Regions from separate parts of the Homo sapiens genome. Here region 2 is linked to region 1. Evidence: promoter capture Hi-C in human tissues and cell types (Jung and others, 2019). All regions are on one chromosome and are shown on one strand. Each heading gives the region's core, a stretch centred on a gene start or on the middle of the fragment in contact. The rest is flanking DNA. Distances are from core to core; before and after follow the strand shown. Region 1 holds the start of RALGAPB (Ral GTPase activating protein non-catalytic subunit beta). Region 2 holds the start of ARHGAP40 (Rho GTPase activating protein 40).

The links. Contacts are between HindIII fragments. The study calls those that stand out against the background at their distance.
Region 2: the fragment with the promoter of ARHGAP40 here is called in contact with the fragment with the promoter of RALGAPB in region 1 in 1 of the 25 tissues and cell types used here (heart right ventricle).

What each region holds. Positions count from the first base shown.
Region 1 is chr20:38,469,108-38,475,783 of GRCh38, reverse strand. It overlaps RALGAPB (Ral GTPase activating protein non-catalytic subunit beta), which reads right to left and starts at 2,941. Exons shown (of 30, transcript NM_020336.4): 1 at 2,715-2,941. RefSeq lists a silencer at 2,661-2,860 and an enhancer at 3,151-3,220. The HindIII fragment of the contact is 4,688 bases long and covers 1,783-6,470 here.
Region 2 is chr20:38,600,203-38,606,798 of GRCh38, reverse strand. It overlaps ARHGAP40 (Rho GTPase activating protein 40), which reads right to left and starts at 4,990. Exons shown (of 15, transcript NM_001164431.3): 1 at 4,720-4,990. The coding sequence starts at 4,856. RefSeq lists an enhancer at 5,868-6,409. The HindIII fragment of the contact is 9,850 bases long and covers 1-6,596 here.

The DNA of each region.
Region 1 (6,676 bases), core at 1,692-4,191:
AATTAGCCAGGTGTGGTGGTGGGTGCCTGTAGTCCCAGCTACTCAGGAGGCTGAGGCAGGAGAATCGTTTGAACCCAGGAGGCGGAGGTTGTAGTGAGCTGAGATTGCGCCACTACACTCCAGCCTGGGGGACAGAGCGAGACTGCATCTCAAAAAAAAAAAAAAGAAAAAAAAAATTTTATGAAATGTGTTTTTAATTCAGTCTACATACTTTGTCATGTTTAATTGCTATACAAAAAAAAATCTTTATTGTCCAAAAACCTCCTCATAATGACCTTCACACACATATTCACTAACTTTTGCAAATCCTTACATGGTTTTAAGACCAACCAAGAACAAATCCAATCTGAATTATTGGTCTGCCTTCCTTTAAACTTGTAAATATGGCAAATGGGGCAATGGCAGTTCAGGCATTCTGCAATAAATATGTGCTAAATTTGTCAATTCCTGTGACAACATGATTTTACTCTTCATTAAGTACTTAACGTCCTCTCTCCTGGTGAACAGGACCAAACATTACCAATGGCAATCCCATCTGCTTGTATTTACCAAATACCAACAAGGCAGTGGCATTTAGTGGATGACAACTAAACACTTTTTTGGACAATGAAGTAGGGAACACATGCAAAGGTCTAACAGTAATAAAAAGACTTTCCCTACAGACATGATTGCGTCCGATTGTGATAGAATCAGACATTAAAAATCAAACAATGTTGATTGCACATGGTTAGTTACAGAGTGCCTTGCAATTGGTAAGAACTCAATGTGTGTGTTCAACTGCTGGACAAATTGCTGAACATAACTAGAATACTCACTCCTAAGCAAAAAGAACAAAACTCTATAAGCTGGGAACTACCAAACATCTTTTACAAAAATGGAAATAGAGAAGAATCTGTTCGCAACATGATCTATCTATGACATAAAAGGACCCAAACATTCCACTGAGTAAAAGCTTTGTGAGTCTGTATGTCAAAGCACTGGAAGGAATACAGAGATGAAGAAAACATAGTCCCTGCCCTAAAGCTTCTCATAATCTAGAAGTAGGGATAGAACTACAACTCAGAAAAATAACTGATAAGTTTCACTACGATGTTCCTAAAGAGCAAATTGGAAGGACTCAAGGTGGGTAGGGGTCAGGGACAGAGGTATCTTGAAGGGAATGCTTAAAGCTAATGCAGCCAGAGACAGGAAGAAAAGGGTATGTAGGCCTGGCACAGTGGCTCGCATCTGTAATCCCACCACTATGGCAGACCATAGTGGGTGGACTGCTTCAGCCCAGGAGTTTGAGACCAGCCTGGGCAACATGGAGAAACCCCATCTCTACAAAAAAAATTCAAAAATTAGCCAAGCGTGGTAGTCCCAGCTACTTGAGAGGCTGAGGTGGGAGGACTGCTTGAGCTCAGGAGGCGGAAGTTGCAGTGAGCCAAGATCATGCCACTGCATTCCAGCCTGGGCAACAGAGCAAGACTCTGTCTAAAAAAAAGAAAGAAAGAAAAGAAAAGGGTGTGTATATGCATATAGGAGAGAGCAGAAGTGTGTGCGTTTGGGTGGGATGGCCAGAACGTTCAGAGGATGGTCTAGGCAGACTTCCAGCATATGTAAAAACGACCCAGAGGTTACAGACGCTACACCTATAAGTACTGTATATTTAGGAAAATTGCAAACGAGCAGTTTGCATAAGATGCATACATTTTAAATGTTCCAGATGACTCAGAATCCCTGCAGAGAATTCCATCCCTAACAGTCTTTCACAAGGTGTAGTGGTCAGTCAACCTAAAGATCTCTGCGGGTGGAACCTGCAAGTTTAACAAGCTCCCAGACAATTCTCCTGCACACTTAAGCTGGAGAAAGAGAGATGCTTTTTGAGATGCAGAATTATCAAATTACATGCGGTTCCCAAACTTTGCTGCAAGCTGGAATCACTTGGGCATCTTTAAAAAAAAAATATTGAAGTCTGGCTTTCAACTCCAGACATTCTGATTGTTTTGGTCTGGGATGCCACATGGGCATCAGAAACCTTTACAATTTCCCCCAGGTGATTCTACAGTGTAGCAAAGTTGGAGAGCCACTGCCCTAATTGTTAAGCACTTGGGTCGGATGCTCCGGTTCAAATTACTAGCTATGTGACCTTGGGTAATTAAGTCACCCAACCACCCAGGGACTCAGTTGCCTCGTCAGTAAAATGGGGACAACAATCCTACCTCACAGGGTTGCTGTGAAGTTAGACGTGGAGAACGTAATGGCCTGGCATGATGCCTGGCGGATAAGAAGCGCTTAATGGGGGTTAGCTGTTTACTCCCATCATCAACTCTCCCTCATCAAAGTGTCACTGTGCAATGGGCAGCATCGTCCCCACTGGGCGGCAGCAACTTGCCTAACCTTTCTGCTGGACCAAATTCTTTGCGGGAGTTGTCTAGCTCCGCTCCAGACCCGCCCCCTCCCCCAGGTTGCCAGGAGAGAGCTTCGCCTGGCCGGGGTAGCTCCCAAGGATTAGACCGGGTTTACACAGACTCGACAGCAGCCGCCCACTCCAGGGCCAAGCTTTCCCCGCCCCCGTGGGTCTCCCAAAAATTTGCAGATGAGCTTCCAAAGGCCGGGCCCCTGGAGCACCCAGAGCCGAGAAACAAGCCTCAGCCGTCCCTTGACCGCCAGGTGGGGAAGAGAGGGAAGGAGAGGGGAGGGTCCGGCCGCGGCGGGGCCGGCTGCCCGGTTACCTGAGGCGACGGGCGGGGCCCGCATCGCCGGGGCGGGCGCCGCCGCCGGCCGTCCTCGGCCTTCCGCCTCACGCGACCCGCGCCATAGGGCTGGCGCTTTCACCGCCCTGGCCGGCCGTCCTCAGGCGGTCCGTCAGTCCACCCGTCAGCGACTCTCCCAGGGCGCCAAGGGACGACGAAGGCCACTCGAGCCAGCCGGCTGGGATCTGCTCAGGCAACTTCCGACTGCCAGGGGCGGCGGCGTCAAATAACTCCCCAGCCAAGTGGGCCACTGCGCGTGCGCGGTGCGCCTAATCAGAGCTTTCTACGGGGCTGAACCGGTGGCGTCAAATAATTCCCGAGACACAGAGCCGGAAGCTGCGCCTGCGCAGCTATCCCAGATCGCCGCGCGGGACGCATTGCGTTCCTCCCATTCCGGATCAAGTGGAGAGGGAGGAGTGAAGTGACGGATGCACCTACCTCATCGCGGCACAGAGGAGGCGCTCTACCTGCGTCCTTAGGAATCTTACGGCATCCACTCTACCTGCTTTCGGTGCAGACGGATAAGGGGCTTCTCTGCAAGATTCTGGCTCCCACCTAGGTTCTAGGAATTTCTCCCATCCCACCATTACAGCACTCTTCCTCTGAAATGATGCCCTTTGCTCGCCGCCGTCTTATTACACGGGCACAGCATTAATTATGAACAGTGCTCTATTCCAGGCCCGGTGTGGGTTACAAAGGTGAATCGAACATAAGATTTAGAGCCTCTCATTAAAGAGCTGAATCTGATCGAGATAAGACAGTAGTAATAATACTAAGAGATACTACTTCGAGCACCTGCCATGCGCTAGACATTTTGTAAACAGTACCACTTTCAATAATTTGCTTTCACTTCAACGAAGAAAATAATACCATTGGAGAGGTACAGCTTAAGTGCTTTGAGAATCTAAAGGAGGAAACTTGGACTGAGAAAGAAGAGGAGGGAGGGATGGTGGAATTCTTCACGGAGGACCTGGCCTTGAGACTGACCTTGGGTATTGAGAGAGGGAGGAGGGGTCAGGGTGTTGAGTAGAGGTGAAGGCACGGTTGTCTGAAAAGCAGAAGGGAGCAAAGAAGATTCTGACTCCTCACCTCAGTTAGAAGAGACTATGGAGGAATGAGTGATAAGGGAACTAGTATCCTCACAGAAAGGGTAAAACTGAAGAGTGTTTCCTCAAGACCACACCTCACCCCCCAGAAAAATAGCTACAGGAAGGAAGAGGGAAAAGGAGGGTAAGAATGTGCTAGGACAGGAACGAGGCTATGTCCAGGACACTGGATCCAAGCAATACATTTCAATTAAACACAGTGTGACAAATTATGTAGTTGGCTAACTCAAGATCTATTTCAACCACTCCCTTGCCTTTCTATACTACAGGGGCTGAAAAGCAAAGCACACAACTCTCAACTTTCTTTGCTGCTAAGGGTGGCAGTGAGACAAAGTCCTGGCCACTGAGATGTAGGCAGAAGTATCAAAGGAGACCTTCCCTTCCTTCTTCCCTTGGAGAAGTTTGTGTCCTTCACTTTTCCCCTGCTTCATGCTTGGAACTGGGTAACACCTGGGAGCACAGCAGCCTAGAGGCCATGAGGAGGGCTGTGCTGAGGAAGGTGGAGCAGAAAGACAGGAGCCTGTTTGTTTAAGTCATACTCAAGCAGCTACACAAACCCTGTACTACCTTCCTGTCTTATCGGGATGAGGGATCTTATATATACCAGAGTTTGTTGAGTTTTATGTTACTTGCAACCAGATGCATTCTAACACAATTAATACTGAACCCCTGTAACAGACAAGGGAGGGGTGACTAACTGGAAGAACAACGGGTGATGGGAATTGGAAAAGTGACAGGCACAGAGGATGGGAAAGCTGTCCCAAAGCCCTTGGGGAGATGATGAAAATACAGCTATCACCCTTCTAGTGGTTTCAATTCATTCCTGAAATTCTGCTTCTAAGTGGAAAGCTGTTAAATTTTTCCCATTAATTAAAATGGGCAAAATTGTGTTCAATTCCAGCCTAAGGCACCTAAATATTTTTAACAGAAAAAATATATTGATGCAACAGAAAATTATACAAACAAATAATTTTGCTTAAAATATGGTTTTTACATAACATGTAAGGCAGTAAGACTTACTGCTCTGGACAGAAAGACAAGATTTAATATTAGGTGCAAGTTGGTGGAGGAGAGATGCAAGTGAGTGGTTCTCTAAATGATGGTTTGTTTTTTTAAGACACAGGGCCTCGCTATGTTGCCCAGGCTGGCTTCAAACTCCCAGGCCCAAGCGATCCACCTGCCTCAGCCTCCCAAGTAGCTGGAACTAAAGGCACACATCACTGTGCCTGGCATAAAAGATATGTTTTTTCTGCACTCTTTGCTAATTTTTTAAAACTTTTGAAGTCTTCACTTAAACAAACATAAAAATAAAACACACATACGCACATATACCTTGAGGGAAAATTAAAGACTAAACATTAGAACACTTTGAAACATTTGAGAAAAGCACACATGTACAATAAACTTAAGAGACACATGAGATGCTACACATAGTAAAACATTTTGGATCTCCAAACATAGTGCACAATTCAAATTTGTTCCACGGCATGATCTCTAACTAGAAACATCGACTAAACTGGGGAATGTCTTCATCTGAACTGTAATGTCAAAATATCATTGTGTATAGTGTGTTTGGAAAGGCACAGAATTGGAAAAAAGAGGAGCAGCGGTATAAGCTTTTGTGACAGACTTTTTTCCAAAGATCACTACACCAGTCTTTTTTGTTTTATTTACCCTGAAAGCATCATTCTGGGAGATGCCATACCAATCTATATGATCCATCCCATGGTTCTCCTTATGATGTAACCGACACTCCTCCCACTGAGAAGTGGGATTGATGTTCCTTCTCCTTGAGTCTGGCTGCGTCTGTGACCATTCTAACCAATAGGGCAAAAGTGATGCTATGTGATTTCTGGGGCTAGGTCATAAAGAAGACACAGCTTCTACCTGGCTTGCTCCCTATCACAATGCTCACTCTGGGACCCCAGCCACCATGTTGGGAGGAAGCCCAAGCCACATAAGGAAAACATGAAGAGGTGTTCCAGCTACCAGCCCTAGCTAAGTTTCTGGTGACAGTCAGCATCAATAGCCAGACATATGAGTGAGGAAGCCTTCAGATGATTCCAGCCCCCAGGCTTCAAGCCTCCACCCCAACCTGACACCAAGCTGAGCAGGGACAAACTAACCCTATTGAGAGCAGCCCATAAGAGATGTGGATCCATGAAAAATATTGAGCAGTCCATATAGCAGATTCATGAGTAAAATAAACATTGTCATTTACCCCAACCACTAAGTTTTGGGTTAAATTGTATACAGTCGCAGTAATTGGAACACTTTTCAAGAACCATAATTGAGAAAAGTTTGTAAATGAACAGCTGTATGTGAGATACGTCTGTGGCCATTTTTTTCTTGTTTTATTTTTCCTTCTTTTTTAATTGTGCAGTACCAGCTTGGGGTAGAAATAGTTGGTCAGACCCATTGCTGTTTTCCTGAACCTAAAACAATACTGGCATGGTGTTAAGTGCTCAATGAACATGTGTTGGATGGATGGATGGATGGATGGATGGATGGATGGATGGATGGATGAGGGGACGGATAGAAACTTCATTGGCTCAGTGCTGAACCCACCTTCTTGCTCCTACTGTTAATTCTTAGTGGATAGTATCCAGTGGTTGATGGTAGTAACACCATTAGATTCAGGCAAGTGAGGCCCCTTGTGCCAGACTCTGTGCCTTAAGAGGGTCCTGCACTTTGGACTGTATTCCTCAAAAGTTTGTAAGTGCCCTTCTGGGGCTAGCAATGCCATTTAGGAAGGGTGTCTCTGTCTAGACCAGATCCCATGTGACTCTTGTTGACCACAATTTTCTACCTTGAAATTTTCTAAGTCTCTCTCCA
Region 2 (6,596 bases), core at 3,741-6,240, 130 kb before region 1:
ACCCCAGTGGCAGAGACTTGAGCTACACATGAGCAAAATATGAGTGAAGGTGAACCTTGTAAAGGTGATTGATTCTACAAGCTATCTGTGTGCAATCAGCCAAGTCATTTAACCCATTATTGATTAAGGAAATCTGGCTGGTGCACTAGACTCAAAATGGGTCTTTCTGCCTCTCTGATCTGCCTTTGAACTCTGCCAGACACTGAGCATGTGAAAAGATGCTCAGCCTCACTAATAATAATAAAAAGGGCAAATTAAAACAAGAGACAGGTTTCTCCCAATCCAATTAGCCAAGACTAAAAATGAACAATAATGTCTGGTCAAGAATGTCATGTATATTAGGAAACAAGCTCACACCCACTTGGTGAGTCTAATTGGGTACAACCTTCCTGGAAAACCACCCAGAATATGTTTCAGAATTTTAAATGTATACACCTTTGGACTCCATGATTCCTATTCTGAAAATGTATCATAAGTACACAAAGATATATGTCCAAGAACATTGCAGTATAGTTTATAATAGCAACCAAAAGAGAAAAAGAAGCAACCTAAAATTCCATCAACAGGAGGCTAGTTAACAAAAGTACTGTCCAGTCATAAAATGAAACATCACACAGTCTTTAAAGAGGATAACGTAAGGGCAGGTGTGGTGGCACATGCCTGTAGTCCCACCTACTTGGGAGGCTGAGGCAGGAGGATTGCTTGAGTCCAGGAGTTTGAGACAAGCCTGAGCAACATAGGGAGACCCTGTCTCTACAAAAATGAAAAAAATAGCTAGGCGTGGTGGTGCATGCCTGTGGTCCCAGGATCACTTGAGCCTGGGAGGTTGAGGCTGCAGTGATTCCACCACTGCACTCCAGCCTCAGCCTGGTCAATAGAGCAAGACTCTGTCTCCAAAAGAAAAAAAAAGAATAATGTTGATTTCTATGTCTTTCCAGGAAAAGATATTATAAAGATGGAAATGTCATTTATAAAATAGTATACATAATACAAACCAATTCACGTATGTAAGTACAATTATGTGCATGGATTGGATCATAGATACATTTTACGTATACATGTATGTAAATATTTATGAAGCACAAAATCCTATAGGATGTACACTTAACTTCTCACAATTGCTGTTCTTGTGGGTTGGAGGTGGGAGGGGCAGGTGGATTTCACTTGCTACTTTTTTTGCATTTTTATACCAATCATGAATTAACAGAAAATATATTTCTACAGGGAGCAAGGATAAGGGGAATCCCAACAGAGTCACCTCACTCCAACTGGGTCTTTGAGGCACCTCCCAAGGCCAATATTGCATGGTTTTAAGATGAAGTCCACATAGACAGTGAATTCGGTGTCCCCCTCACATTATGGGATGTTCTGTTTGATGACAACATTGACTCTATTCATCCCTGCTCAGGCCTTTCAGGTCAGCATTTAGTGTATTATGTGGTAGTGACCAGTGTTATGTCTTCCTCCTGGACCAGCCTGTGGACATCTTAAGGGCTGAGAGAGCATCTTATTCATGCCCACACCCTCATATCCATCACAGGACTTCATGTAGAGGCAGTGAGCATTTCATTCATCAGGGAAATATTTCATGAACACCTACAACAAGCCAGCCCTGTGCCAGTGCTGGAGAGCTGTGGGTAAACAGAACAGATCCGGGCTTACATCCTGAAGGTTGCCGTCCTGCTGGAATTTGTTGAATAACTAAATGACTCACAAGCAAGGGACCAGTGAGATGAACAGACTCAAAGGATTGGGGGAGCTGACCTAGTGACCTTGTGAGCCAATACACAAGAACATTAGCCTGGAGCAAACAGACCAACCTTGTTCCAGGGAAGTAGTTTTCGCTTTTTTTTTTTTCTTTGGCAGTGGAATGTCTTCTCAATAAACAAAAGAGGTAACGGTGATATTATTATAAGCTGATTTTATAAGTTTAATTTAAAGCATTTACTGATCATACAATCAAGATAATTTTAGTTGACAAAAAACATTTGGGATACCTGAGTGGAGGTAGTATTTTTACTAGATGTTTAATACTTGAAAGATATAATAAAAATTAAATTCAAATAAAATGTTTGCAGAACCCTGGTTTAAAAACCACTGTTCTGGGCCAGGCGCATTGGCTCACGCTTGTAATCCCAGCACTTTGGGAGGCTAAGGCGGGTGGATCATGAGCTCAGGAGTTCGAGACCAGCCTGACCAACATGATGAAACCCCATCTCTACTGAAAATACAAAAATTAGCCAGGCGTGGTGGCGCACGCCTGTAATCCTAGCTACTCAAGAGGCTAAGGCAGGAGAATCACTTGAACCCGGGAGGCGGAGGTTGCAGTGAGCCGAGATCGTGCCATTGTACTCCAGCCTGGGCAACGGAGTGAGACTCCATCTCAAAAAAAAAAAAAAAACACCACTGTTCTGGAAGTAAAAATGTTGCTTTTGTTGTTTTGTTTTCAGTAATAAACAGAATGGTTCAAATTTTAAACTCTCTTAAGTATTTTTCATCTGTTCATTCAACCAGTAGCTATTAAGCACATTCAATGGGTCACGAGCTCTTATAGTGAATTCAATATTAATTGCCTCAAAGATCACAAGGAACCAGGAGATTAAGGGAGGGTGGTGGTGGAGTCAGGGGAACAGCCATAATAGGTAGGTAGATAGGTAGATAGATGGATGGACGGACGACGCATGGTTGGATAGATGGTGTGATCAGCTGAATAACAGCTCCCCAAGATGTCCACATCCTAATCCTCAGTATTTGTGAATATATGTTATCAGGCAAAGGGACTCTGCATATGTGATTAAGCTAAGGATCTTGAGTTGGGGGGACGATCCTGGATTAGCCAGTGGGCCCAATGTCATCACAAGGATCCTTATCAATGAAAGAGGGAGGCAGGAGAGTCAGAGAAGGAGACATGGGGATGACTGTGGAGGTCAGAGTCAGAGAGATGTGTGAAGATGTTACAGAGCTGCCTTTGAAGACGGAAGAGGACCATCAGCCAAGGAATGTGGGCAGCTGCAGAAGCTGGAAAAGGCAAGGAAACAGATTGCTAGAGCCCCCAGACAGAATGCACCCCTACAGACTCCTCGATTTGGGGATTTCCAGCATTCAGAACTGTCAGATAACACATTTGTGTCGTTTTAAGCTACTAAGTTTATGTGATTTGTTATAGCAGCAATAGAAAACTAATATAAATGAGAGAGAGAGACAGAGAGAGAGATGATAGATAAGCTTATGTGATTTGTTATAGCAGCAATAGGAAACATAGATAGATGAATAGATAGATGGATAGATAGATTAGATACAGAATAGATAGATAGATGGATAGATTAGATATAGAATAGATAGATAGATAGATAGATAGATAGATAGATAGATAGATAGATAGATAGATAGACAGATAAACAAACTTGTCTTTGGCTTCTTAAAATTGATTCTTATTAAAATCCTATCCTGAGTAATTTTTGCCTGTGATGGGGCAGAGCCCCACGCACATAGGAGCTCAGCGAACATGCTGTATGAATGAAATGGTCTCACTAAGCTCCCCCTCCCTTTCCTGAGCCTAGAAGTTGTTCCCTTAAGGGAATTCTAGGACTCAGTTGTCCTACGATCAGGATCACCTGCTCCCTGAATCTGCTTTCTGAGTACAGACCACGTCTAGTCTTCAGGTCCTTGGGTGGCAAATGAATGGGGCAATGGGGGTCTCCTGCTGCAGGTGTGTTCCAAGCTAGAACACTTTTGGAGGGCAGGGTCTATTCAGATTCTAACATTCCTTTTAAACTTGCAACTACAAGTCTAGGATGTGAATTTTACCCATGCAAGTCCCCAGAGATGTTCATTGCTGTATTGCTTAGAATCGTTAAAAATTGGAACCAACCTAAATGTCCATTAGCCAGGAACTGATTCAAATTAACCAAAGATATCCATAAAGTTGGATCCTGGCAGGCCACTAAAGTGAATGAATTGGATCTTTATGTTACTGACATGTAAATATGTCCATAACATTAATTGAGGGGTTGCAGGGGAAAACCTTACAAGCACATGTAACACAAGAGCCTATTTGTGTAAAACTATACAAGTTTAGGTTTACATATGTCAAAAAGTTCTCCCAAGGTATATGTCAAAACTTTAACAGTAGTAAGTTTTCAAGAATGAACATATGTATTCCTGTACAGTATTCCTGCACTGTTTGACTTTCTATAATAATCAAATTGTAATATGATGTAATCAGAGTGGGGGAAATGACTATTTGAAAATTCTGGTCTGGCTGTCAGTGGCAGGCTGAGCAGGAATAAGGGGTGACCAGTTCTCAGCCGAGGTGACCACACGGCCACACTGACCCAGAAACTTGACCCAGAGACTCCTGAATCTTGAGCCCCTGGGCCCCCTAAGACTCTACACCCAGAGGAAGAGGAAATGGCACATACTGGCGTCACTCACGGTCTCTAAGAATCTGAAAATCAGTGACCCCTGCAGGAGGCCAGTAGCCTGAACCCAGGGCAATGCTGTGTCCCAGGAAGGCTCTGGGTTTGGAGTCCCATGGACTAGGGCTAAAAGCCATCTCCACCACTTGACAGCCAGGTGACCGGGCTCTCCAAGCCTCTGTTTCCTCATCTGTACGATGGAGGAAGATTCTTGCCTCACAGGGATGTTGTGAAGACAGACCGCACATGCCCCTGGTGCATAGTAGGGCCAACTTCCCTCCCGCTCCCGTGACCCCTGTACCTGCAGCCCAGGTCGGCCCAGCGCTGGGCGCAGCGCCTGGCAATGCGGGCCCGCGGGATCCGAGGACACGGTGAGGCTAGGGGCCCTGGGGCCAGCCTCTCCATCTGGGCGGCGGGGAGGAGGGCAGGCTCGGCCATGGGCTGGCACCTCGAGGATCCCGGTCGGTCGTGGTGCTGCCGCCGTGGGGCTGACTCGATCGGCAATGTGAGAGGGAGGAGTGAGGTAGGGCCCCCGTGGCGCACCCAGTTCCCAGACACCCTCATGCAGGACTAATGTTCAGCCTCCTCCTGGGGCGGGGCTGGCTTGGCCGGGGCCACCTACAGGCAGGCACTCGCCGCACACACACACACCACTGAGTCCCACCCGCCTGCACTGGAACTGCGAGGTGGAAACGGCGCCTTTCAAAAACTGTCATGAAATATGATTTGCATGGCCACTATTATTACCTACAGCCATCCCGATTTCAGAGTAAAACCACATGAATAAAGCACCTGGCTACTATGGGTGGAAGAACGTGCTCACGACCCAGGGGTTTTTATCTGGCTGGGCTATTCCCTCTGAGGCTTCTCTGAGCCTCGGTTTCCTCCTCTGTGAAATGGGGATGGTGACATTTGCCAGGAGACAGGAAAAAAGCAAGCAGGAAGATGTCAGGGTGTAAAGAGAGCAGGACCTGGGCACGGGGGCGGGAGGATAGGAAGGGAGCAGGAAATGGGAGTGGCAAAGTGAGGGGGCGTCCGGAGAGCCTCCCGGGATTGGTCTTTTGGCTGGGATGTAAAGGAGGAGGAACTAGCTGGGGAAAGGCTGGGTAAGGGGAAAACCCAGGGAATTTAACCCCCTCTTCTGTAAAATGAGAACTCATTCATTCACTTAGCAAATCTTTATGGAGCTCTGTAGGGGCCCTGGGGGAAGGCGACCAGAGTGTCTGAAAGCAAAGAGCAGGAGAGTGTGGACTCAGCTGAGAGGAGAGCAGAGGCTGAGTGTCAGGGTGGGGAGTGGGAAGGGGTTTCCAGGTGCCAACAAGGACACAAGCCAAGGTGTTGCAGTAGGGCATTTGGGGAACGTATGAGAAGCGCTCCTGCCAGCTTCCCTGGCGGTGTCCTATTCCCTGCATCCATTTTGGACCATGAGCCCCTTCTCTTGCCCTCTGGCCAGGACTGAATGCCATAGACTTCCCCAGATTGCCCGGGCCCGCCCTGCCCTCCTCTAAGCCTCCGGGTGTCAGTGAATCTTTCCAGGAAGCATATTCACCTGTACTCCAAGAAGAGAGGCCCCAGAGTCCTCATCAAGGAGGGCCCCCAAGTCTATGGGTCCCCACAGTCTGAAGCTCTGTTCTGGCCTTAGGGAGGCAAGAAATGGGCCCCAAGAAACTGAAAACAGGGCCCCACGGGAGCCATAGAGCCCAGGAGCATGCATGGTTCTGGCATTAAAGACGGGAAAGGCCTCGCAACACAAAGGGTCCTGAAAAACCCCAAGTTTCAGGTGGCTGTCACTGGCTGGAACCTGCAGACCAGGGCTGTGCAGAAGACCACCCATCCACTTCTCCTGAGCCTCCTCCTGAGGAGGAGACAAGGGAACCATGCCACTGTGAGGCCAAGGAGCTGGGGTCCAATATGTAGGTGAATTGTCAGCCGAAGTGGGTGCAGAACTACTTTGGGAGCCATAGGGAGTTTTGGGTGGGAAACATGGTAGGTGCTTAATAAAGGTTGGGTGGATGGATGGATAGATGGATGCATAGATAGATGGAAGAAAGAATGAAAGATTGGTTGGGAAAATGGGGGATGAGAGAAGGGATGAATGGGAAGGCAATTGAATAAGAGGTTGATGGTTGGTTTGATGGGTGGATGGATGGATGGATGGATGGATGGATGGATGGGTAG